2 separate regions of the Homo sapiens genome follow, and region 1 is linked to region 2. The links are contacts of gene promoters, found by promoter capture Hi-C in blood cells and fetal thymus (Javierre and others, 2016). All regions are on one chromosome and are shown on one strand. Each heading gives the region's core, a stretch centred on a gene start or on the middle of the fragment in contact. The rest is flanking DNA. Distances are from core to core; before and after follow the strand shown.

Region 1 (5,337 bases), core at 1,558-4,057, 1.0 Mb before region 2:
TGATCTAACAAAAGGAGAGTCAGAGTTAGTCTCAGGCTTCAACATCGAATATGCCGCAGGCTCATTTGCCCCCTTCTTTATAGCAGAATACATGAATATTATCATAATAAATGCCCTAACTACTACTATTTTCCTAGGAGCACTACACACTGTATATTTACCAGAACTCTATACCACAAATTTAATTACCAAGACCCTTCTAAACCACTCTCTTCTTACAAATTCGAATGGCATAACCCCAATACCGCTAAGACCAACTCGTACATCTTTTATGAGAAAACTCCTACCACTTACATTAGCATTTTGCAGATGCTATATCTCAATGCTTGTCCTAATTTCCAGCATCCCACCCCAAACATAGGAAATATATCTGACAAAACAATCACCATACGTTAATGCAACATGCTGAGCGCAAAGGTTGCACCCTATAGGATTTATTTAGATGATACTCTTGTAAAAGCAAAACTATAGGGACAAAAAAAACAGATGAGTAGTTTCCAGGGGCTGCGAGCTGGGAAGGATTTGACGACAAAAGGAAGGAAGAGAATTTGGAGGCCGATGGATCTGTTCTATATCTAGAACACAACTCTATGCATTTCTTAACACTCACAGAGCTGTATACCAAAAAGGTTCAGTTTTACAGCAGGCAAATCAGACTCAATAAACCTGACTAAAGGAACAGGTACAAGGCCTCGGAAGGGGCCTCAAGGCTTAGCTTCTTCAGCACTGCAGTGTGTCTGCCTGTCACCAGGCCCCTTAACATTCTCACTACTGTTGGGTTCAGCCACCAGCAGCAATGGCAGGAGAAGGGAGGAGAGAGGCTGGGGTGTTCAACCCCTGGCTCCCCTCGCCAGGCCGAGGCCCGTCTACAGCTGTTCATCCCCTGGCTCTCCCGCGCCAGGTGGAAGCCCCTCTACAGCTGCAGCTCATGCTGTGCTCCAGGAGGCCCGCCCACTGCAGCTTGGCACCGGTGTTTCACCTTCCCTGCTGGCTTCTTCATAAATTATCCCTTAATCATTAAACTCTCCTCAATCACACACACAAAATTTAATACAAGAAAAGCTTTCAAAGAAAGTGGCTAACTAAAGCCAACATTAAGAACATCAATAAATGACTATATTTATGTTCAGAAACTTAGAATTCCTACAATATGAACACATATATGCTATTTGTGTTTGGATTATTAAATATTCTAAATCATTCTGTACTTTAAGTAAAATGGAACACGAGAAATGGAAGGGAACGTACGTCACTCCAGCAGACATCAAGCACAGGCCCAGTGTGCATCTGCTGGGCTTTTGGAATGGTCTGTCCACTGTCTTGAACTTCCCAGCAGCGAACCTGTAGTAACAAAAAAATTCAATGCAAACAAAGCAATTACGATGTATTGCTTGCATTTAACACCTAAAAACTAATGGGGTACACCTTAACCATACATAGACTTCTCATAGCAACCTAATTATCTAACTTCAAGAACAAAGGAATTAAAATATCTATGAAAGCAACTGTTTTCTTCGCCTAAGCTATTAAAATAAACAAATTCTATTGCTTACACATAAAATTGCAGATAATTTTCTCAATGCATCTATGAGATATGTCTTTTAAAGTAGAATATCACTTACCCATTACCATTCAGAGAATCAAGACCAAAGTAGAAACTTACCTCTTTTCTGAATACTTTATATAATCTCCCCTCCGTTAAAAAAGTAATACATTTTAGAGATTTTGTAAATATGGCAAAAAAATAAAAATCACCCTAATCACACCACAGACAACCACAGCTAATGGTTCTGTGTGCTCTTAGTCTTCTTTCCATGTACGCATATTTTCTGGAAGACACTAGATTATACAGTGTCTTCACTTTTGCAGCTACAGCTTTCCTCACCTGCATCACTAGCCTGTTCAACTTGAAACATCCTTTTTTTAAGCAGCAAATAATCTGAAATCTTTCTAAAAATTACATGTAGAAAGCAAGCTTGCTCAACCTTGACTACCATCCTCCCTCCTGTTCTCCTAACCCCTGCTGCCCCTGTGCTGTAGGCTACAGTTCAAAAGCTTTTCCAAAAACTTACAATGGTATTCCATCATACAAACATACTATACATTGCCATTACTACTGGATATTAAAATTTTCAAAATTTTCACAAGTTCACAGTGCTTTGGCTGTTATAAAGGTTAATTTAGATAATGCAGATGAAGTACATTATCAGATTTCCTACTCAAGTCCCAGAAGGGTATCAGTGAGATAAAGGGTATAAGCTGAAGGATTTTTGATAACTATTGCCAATTATCCTGTGGAAAAGCCAACTTACATACCTACCAGCCATACATGCAGGGTTTCAGCTTATCCTTGCTGGCACTATTATTCTTTTAAACTTTTAATTTTGTTAATTTAATAAAAAAAAGTCTTAAATTTGCATTTATCTGATTACAAGCATGGATGAATGGTTCAGGTTTATTCTTTCTTTTGTGAAGTCCCTCTTTACACCCTTTGCTTATTTTTCTACCAGAGTTTTCTTTCTTTTAGTAAACTGTAATTTTTTTGTCTTTCTTTTTGTACATGATGAGTAAGTATCTAGGCAAATCTGTGCTATTATTTAACGTTGAAAAAGTTTCATACATGCCTGAGGAACACTGTCAGGATGCCAAGAAAGGGAATTTGTTGGTGTGTGCCACTGGGTATAATGTTCACTCTGGATGAATATGATATTTGATTTGGGAATAAACTTCAAGAGACTGAACTAAAGTAGAAAATTTCGAGCAACACATATGATTGTGCTTTCCTAACAAAAACGGGTGTAAGAATAATGTCTGCCATTCAGAAGGGTTCACACCCCCTAAATTGATTTCTCAAAAAAGGCCATAAATAAGTCCAACTGATTCATTTACTTGGGAAACAACGGAGCTAAAGCTAACCTTGGCCATACAAAGAGAGATGATTTCTAGAACACGTATTTAAGGAGCACTTACATCATTAGCCCATGATCCTGCAATAAGAAAGTTCCCCGGCAAGGTTGGTGGGCTAAAAGACAGACAACCAATGCTATCATCAGGAGATGATGTTACTTCAATATCCTGCGGGAAAAAAGTCAATGTTAAAATGTATGCACGCTCACAACTTCATTCCAAATTGTTTTCTTTCTCACTAATTACCTCACGGTGGCCTTTCCTTGTGTACAAGAACTAACTGAATTAGACCTTTCCTTACTTTGATCAAAGACAGGAGTAAAAAATAAGCTAGAGAAAGTACCAGCACCACCAGGACTAGCAGTAGCAGCTGCTAATGAAATGCCCATGGTCTTGTTTTCTAAATGACCAGTTCACTCTGGCCCCACAGTGCTAGATCACAGTTTTCACCTGCCATCCCCTCTCTCCAACCATGGGAATTCTGAGTCAACAGTCCTGGCTGGGCCAGGCCCTGGGAATCTGCACCGGAATCTGCACCTTGGGTGATTCTGGAGACCTGGCAGGCCAGGAAGAACAGGACACAAGTACGGGGACACATTTTCTGTGCTCCAGTGTTTCAGAAACATGAGTTAGACAAAGTTTCAAAGCTTTCAGCCTAAAGGAGGCTCCCAAGTCATCTCGGGTTCTGTCCTTGATGGGAGAAACTCTGCCCAAACTCTTCCTACAAGCCCCAGGAAGCTTTTCGTGGTACCTTCATGGGATTGTGATTGTCTGTAGTTGCACTGCCAAACATGCTGGTCCCACTGGTTCCAAAACCTGAGGTTGTTCCAAACAGGCTCATTTTGAACCTAAAAAGTAATGAAAAATGTTAAGGATGGGTTTTCTCTTAATATCACTGAGAGGCAATGGTAAGATAATTAACTGGCAGAAGAGAAATACTCAAAGTGGCTTGAGGCCAGGCTTCACTTTTCAGACAAGAGCGCAATGAGCAGAGTGCTTTCAAAACATAAACCTTCTATTTTAGAGTAGTTTTAGGTTTCCAGAAATAGTAAAGATAGAATTCCCATACACTCCATATCTAGTTTCCCCTATTATCTCATATTAGTACGGTTCATTTGTTACCATTAATAAACCAGTATGGATACATTGCAGATTATTTTGTAGGCACCAGCTAGAAAATAAATTCACTCATTTTTTACATAGAGACCCTGAGCTGCGCAGCAGGAATATAACAGTAAACAAGATCGCAGGTCCCCGTGCTTTCAGGTTTCCACCTAGTGGGCATTCACTTTCCTACTAATTTCTACATTCTAGTTTAGGTCAGCATCCGCATGAAACTACCTAGAACAACCAGTCCGGGAAGCGAATCAGCAATTTCTTCGTAAAAGTTTTAAAAAGGTCGGGCATCGTGTTTTGGACATTTACCCAGCAAGAACCTCTCCCACCCTGGGTTTTTTCTTGAATATCATAATCTAACAGGCCCACCAGGGTTTGGTCAGGGCCTCTTGCCACTCAGGAGTTGGGACTCTAATCTCACCAGTCTTCATTTTCCTGCTCTGCAAACATAGAGAACATTAACACATTCTCCAGGGCTGCTCTGGGGATCAAATCAGATTATGTAGAAAATGCAGTATCTAGTTCATAGTGGGTACAATAAACGACTTTTCCCTTCTTTTTTCCTTCCAACTCCCCGAGGAGTTACGTACACTGAAACCACATTTCAATCCTACTACCTGTTACGCTGAAAAGTCCTCCATACCAGTCACCTCTCCAAAGGGAGCCAAATGGCTGAGTGACATCCTTGCTAACAAGACAACACAGAACGGAGAAACTGCAAGGAATTTGGGGAAGGCATTTGAGTTTCCTCAGCTTCATGAAAAATAAGTGCAGAACAAAAGGTCAGAGCAACAGCTACAAGCACATGTACATTTTAGTGAACGTGAGGGGATGTGGTCCTTGCCGGCCACACTTCTGCCCTCAAATGCAGAGGTACTTGAAACACCAGTTGGCTGTATGAACGAACAAAGGCATGACAAGGCTTCTGCAATCAGTCCAGGTGCTGGTTACACGGCTTTGGACGGGTCACTTAACCTTGATTTTCTCATCTGTAAAACAGAGACACTAATATCTACTTCACAGAGTTATGAGAACTAAATGAAGCCACACACACACACTGCCTAAAGCACTACAGGTTCTTAATAAATATTACTTTCACTCTATTCCTCTACCTCAACCTTCAAGTTGGGAGAGAACATTTCTGCCATTAGGGATGAACTTAGGAAAAAGAACATGGTAGGTGAGAATCGTTCGTGTTAGTCAGTGTGGACCACACCTTATGCTGAGCACTGGGAAGCTTCCAAAGTTCAGAAGGCACAGTCATCTGTGGGACCCACCTAATCTCTTCCCGCTCTCTCCCGCCTTGCTGCACCC
Region 2 (4,887 bases), core at 1,247-3,746:
TCATGAGTGTCTCCTCTGTGCCAGGCACTGTTCTCAGTGTAGGGGACAGAGCAATGGAAAAAACTGACAAAACCCCACCCTCGATGAGCTTATGGTCTTATGGGAAGGCAGGGACAATAAACAGAAGAGTAAAATACCAGGGCTGCTACCTGTGACAAGTGCCATAGAGAAACACCAATGGGGCGGGAGACAGGGAGTAGGAGGAATGTTAAATAAGGCCATCAGGGAAGGTCTCCCTGAAAAGGTGCCACTGGAACCAGAACTGACGGAGACAAAAGGACACTGGGGCTCTGGGAGAGCAAGTCATCTGCCTGAACTCCCCCTACGTCCCTGGAAGGAATAAGTGGCACAGGCAGGCGGGGCTGCTAGGCGGTTTACAGGACATGGAATCATGTTAAGACAAAAAGGCAGGTCTCTTCTGTGGCTTTCCCTACCCCTCTTACAGAGACCCCCTGCCAAGGCAGCGTGGGTGGGCCTCTTTGGCTCTTAATTAAACACCTGGCAAATTTGGAGAGCCCAGCTGGGCAGCACACTCCTACCTCCCGACGAGGGTGGGCGGCCAGAACAGACGACAGGGGAGGTTCTGGGCTCTGGCCAAGCCCAGACCCTCCCTGCACTGCTCCCAGGCCCTGCTGGGGACGCGTTTTCTCAGGCAGATGAGTTATCTTTTGTCCTAATCTCCTTTGAGGTTCTGATCCCACTTGGGTTTCTGCCGATTTTACCACGGTGCAGAAGAAACAAGGACAGCTCACGGGGCCCTGGGGCCTTGTGACTGTATATATTTACTGCAATTATAGTCATTTCTAACCTTAATTTAGGACACACCAGATGCCAGGTATGAACATATCTCATTTTACATTCATATTCTATGAAGTCTGAATTATTAACGTCCCATTTTACAGATGAGGGGCCTGAGATAGAGAGAAGGGAATTTGATCAAAGTCAACAACAAGTGAGTAGAGAGAGGAATCCAGGGAGTCTGAGGCCAACTCTTTGCCACTGTATACACACACACCGCTCCAGTGCCAGGGCCTGAGCTGGGGACAAGGTCAATGTGGCTGACAGGCAGGACAAGAGGCCATTCCAGATGAGTGCAGAGAAGACCCACAGCCATGGGGTGGAAGCAGGCCCAGTGGAGGCATCCGAGACCTCACAGGTCGTTAGAGAGGGCTTCCCGGAGGAAGGAACAGCTGGGCTGGGCCCTGAAGAATCATCAGGAGGCGGCACGGTGTGTGCAGAAGGTGCCACTCTGGAGAGGATCCCCAAGACCTGTGTGCCACCTGTCGGACTGGAGAAGGCAAGGAAGGAAGTTGATCTGGGCAGGAGGCATGATGAAAGCCTGGGTCCAATCCCCATCCGCTCCTTACTGAAAAGCTAGGAAACGGTCAGGAGATGTTCGCTGGGCCGGCGGCACTCCGCTGAGGCCTGCACCAGCTCATGGAGTTGTCTCCCAAACTCTTGCTGGGAAGGTGCTATTTTTGGCCCTCTAAAGGTCAGAAAACAAGCTCAAAAGCCTTCAGGACTCGGTCTGAGGTCACCGGGCGATGAATGGAGGGGCCCTGTCTGCACCCAGGCAAACAAAGAGGCTCCAGACTGCCAGGCCGGATGCGCTCCGGGCTGGACGCCGGCTCCGCGTGTCTGGGCTTGCCATTCCTGGACCGCCAGACTTCATTTACTACTATTTTTATTTAAAAAGACTCACTTGGAAGAAAGTGATAGATTTCTTGAAAGGAAAGCTGGTATGACTGCTCTGAAGGAAAACCAGTTTTCACTTAGCACCAATGGAAAGTGACGGAAATGAAACATAACAAACAGCACTGTGGGTTTCTTGCCCGCGGCTTCCCTGAGGACGCCTGCTCTTCCACTCAGAAGAAAAGGGAGGAGCAGCGAGCGTCGGGAGGTGTTCAAAACACAGCGAGACCCAGCCAGAAGGCCTGGACAACAACTCCGCAGGCAACGTGTGGAAGTTCAGACCAAGTCAGTCGGCTGCGCCCCAGCCTGGCTGAGGCTCTGCAGACCCGGGGCTCGGCCGAAGACTGCGCGACCTTGGGCAGAGCGCCACACCTTCCCGAGCCTCAGTTTCTCTGGCTGTCAACTAGGAGGATCGCTTCCTTGGCTTGCAGGGATTTGGGGTTTCGGGGACCCTGGAAGAGCTCGGTCCCGGGCAGCTACAAGTGCAAAGGCGTCCTTGGCGGAGGCGGCCGGACCCCGGCGCGGCCCTGCGGACGTCTGGGGACCTGGACACCGCCCGGGATCAGGGTCGGGGTGGGGTGCTTACCTGGTGGCCGCGGCAGTCCCCGCGCGCCGTGCGGAGCAGCCGGGCGTCTAGCCTGGGCGGGAGCAGGGCCAGGGCCAGGGGCGGCGGGGCGCAGGGGGCGGTGGCGCCCAGGAGCCAGGTGGCGCGAGGCCGGACCCGGGCGCCCACCCTGCCTGCCGGACCCAGCAACGCCAGCAACCCGGCCATGGTGCGCAGCTAGGCGCAGCACCCGCGCCGCTGACCCGGGAGGCGGGCGGAGGCCGGGGAGGGTGGGCGGAGCTGACCCGGCGAGGGCCCTCCCCGGCCCCGCCCGCCGGCTTCGCCGCCGCGCGCGCGCGCTGGGCGGGACTGAGGAGGCCTGTGCACATCCCCTTGGCTCACCCGCTAGCTCCGCTCCTCGGGAGCCGGAGTCCAGGGCTGGTGGGCGGGGCTGAAGGAGCGCGCCCCGCCTCCTCTCCGCCCACCAGCCCCGCCCCTTTGGGGGTGGGTGCAGGTCTTTTCAGGGTCTTGGGCTTTCTAACTGTGGTGTGTAGTTGGCGGGTTTCCTTATTCTGCGGGCACAAAGGTGGGCGTAGGGCCGTGGCTTATGAGCTTTTCTCCCTGCAGAAATGGGTGAAATCTGAAAAAAAATTATAGATATGTTTACGTGTTAGCTCCAAAGAAGAAAATAAATATGAGAATTGATATTAGTACATGTTTAATAAAAAGTCCTCTGACCCTCATAGATTGTTGGCGTGAATGTAAAGCGAAAGATGGTGTGGCAGTTTCTTGAAAAGTTAGACATACACTAACCATACAACCCAGCAACTCCACTCCTCGGTAGCTTCTCAAGAGAAACAAAGGCTCGACACTCAAAGACTAAAATGTGAAGACACCAATGTTTGTAGAGATCTTATAAATATTAGTCAACAATTAGGAATGCCCATAAACTGGGACGTACTGTGGCACAAGTCTTCAATGGGACGCAATGCAACAATTAAAGGGAACAGACTACTGATACATGCACAACATAAATGAATCTCAAAGCTCTTATGCCAATTGAAAAAATCTAGGCACAAAAGTCACACACTGGAGGATTCCAGCTACATGAAGTGCCCAGAATAGGCAAAATCACAGAGACCTAAAACAGATCCGTGGTGGCCTAGGGCTGGGAGTGGGAAATGAGATTGACTGCCAAGGAGTGGGAGGAACGTCTTGGGGTGAGGGAAGGATCCTAAACCCAGATTGTAGGGATGGTGACAGCTGTGTAACTAAAACTCGTGGGACTGTACACTTAACATGGATGAATTTTATGCTGTGTAAATTATACTTCAATAAAGATGTTCTGGCTGGGTGGAATGGCTCATGCCTATAATCCAAGCACGTTGGGAGGCTGAGGTGGGAGGATTACTTGAGCTCAGGAGTTCAAGACCAGCCTGAGCAACATAGCGAAACCCTGTCACTACAAAAATAAAAATAAATTAGCCTGGTGTGGTGGCATGCACCTGTAGTCCCAACTACTCGGGAGGCTGACGCAGAATTGCTTGAGCTCAGGAGGTCCAGGTTTCAGGGAGCCACGATGGTGCTACTGCACTCCAGCCTGGGTGACAGAGCGAGACCCTGTCTCTCTAGAAAAAGAAAAAGAAATATATTTTACAAAAGATGTAATATTCTATTAGTCAACTGCAATTCAACTCAACCAAGCTCTTACACAGGCACAGAAATGATATTAAACACATATGCATTAAAAAATATTTATTACATAAGATGGAGTTATAGCTGTGAAAGTAACAGGGTCTGTTGGAGGGAGGTCCTAAAGTGCCCCTGGATGGGAATCCTTCCATTTAAGTGTCTGCAAGAAGCTGGGGAAGAGTGCTTAAGGGTGCAGATTGTCTGTCAGGTTGGCCCTAGAAGTCCAGCTGTGTGATTTGGAAGTAGTGACTCAACTTCTCTGAGCCTTGGTCTTTTCATGTGTAAAATGAAGATAATAATAGTTTCCCCCATGAGATTGTTGAGATAATTCTTTGACACAGTTCTTGGAAAGGGCTTCACTCAGTGCCTGGTGCACAGAGAGGGCACACACGTTAGCTGGGATGTTGTAGAGATGCCTTGCCTGAAGCCCCTCTGTCACCCGGTGACAGTGCCACCTCCAGATGGCATCTGATCTCGACTTCCTCATGGTTCCCATGATTTTCTTTCTTTTTTTTTTTTTTTTGGAGATGGAGTCTCGCTTTGTCGCCCAGGCTGGAGTGCAGTGGCGCGGTCTCAGCTCACTGCAACCTCAGCCTCCCGGGTTCATGCCATTCTCCTGCCTCAGCCTCCCAAGTAGCTGGGACTACAGGCGCCCGCCACCACGCCTGGCTAATTTTTTGTATTTTTAGTAGAGACGGGGTTTCACTATGTTAGCCAGGATGGTCTCGATCTCCTGACCTCGTGATCCTCCTGCCTCGGCCTCCCAAAGCGCCCGTGATTTTCTTGTCACCAGGCCTTCTTCATTCATTTAAGTTTCCTGCCCAGGCTTCATGGGCAGTTGAGTTTGTGATTCATGCTATATGCTTATTAGAGAAGAGAAAAAGGTAATTTTGTTTTTCCCTTTAAATTTGACAGTAAATATAATACTGTAATTATAGACTTTAGGTTCTTTTTTTCTT

What was found. The method cuts DNA at HindIII sites, captures the fragments that hold promoters and counts their contacts. A CHiCAGO score of 5 or more calls a contact.
Region 1: a contact is called between a fragment that was not itself captured here and the fragment with the promoter of FAM210B in region 2, in 1 of 17 cell types (naive CD8 T cells). The highest score is 5.3, in naive CD8 T cells.

The regions. Positions count from the first base shown.
Region 1 is chr20:57,352,450-57,357,786 of GRCh38, reverse strand. RAE1 (ribonucleic acid export 1) reads right to left here. Exons shown (of 12, transcript NM_003610.4): 2 at 3,659-3,755; 3 at 2,971-3,075; 4 at 1,249-1,341. The coding sequence starts at 3,748. It also overlaps the pseudogene MTND1P9. Among named protein-coding and RNA genes, the nearest start is that of RAE1, 3.9 kb to the right of the region's middle. The HindIII fragment of the contact is 1,499 bases long and covers 2,058-3,556 here.
Region 2 is chr20:56,356,583-56,361,469 of GRCh38, reverse strand. It overlaps FAM210B (family with sequence similarity 210 member B), which reads right to left and starts at 2,496. Exons shown (of 3, transcript NM_080821.3): 1 at 2,279-2,496. The coding sequence starts at 2,464. RefSeq lists a silencer at 2,220-2,819. The HindIII fragment of the contact is 7,749 bases long and covers 1-4,887 here.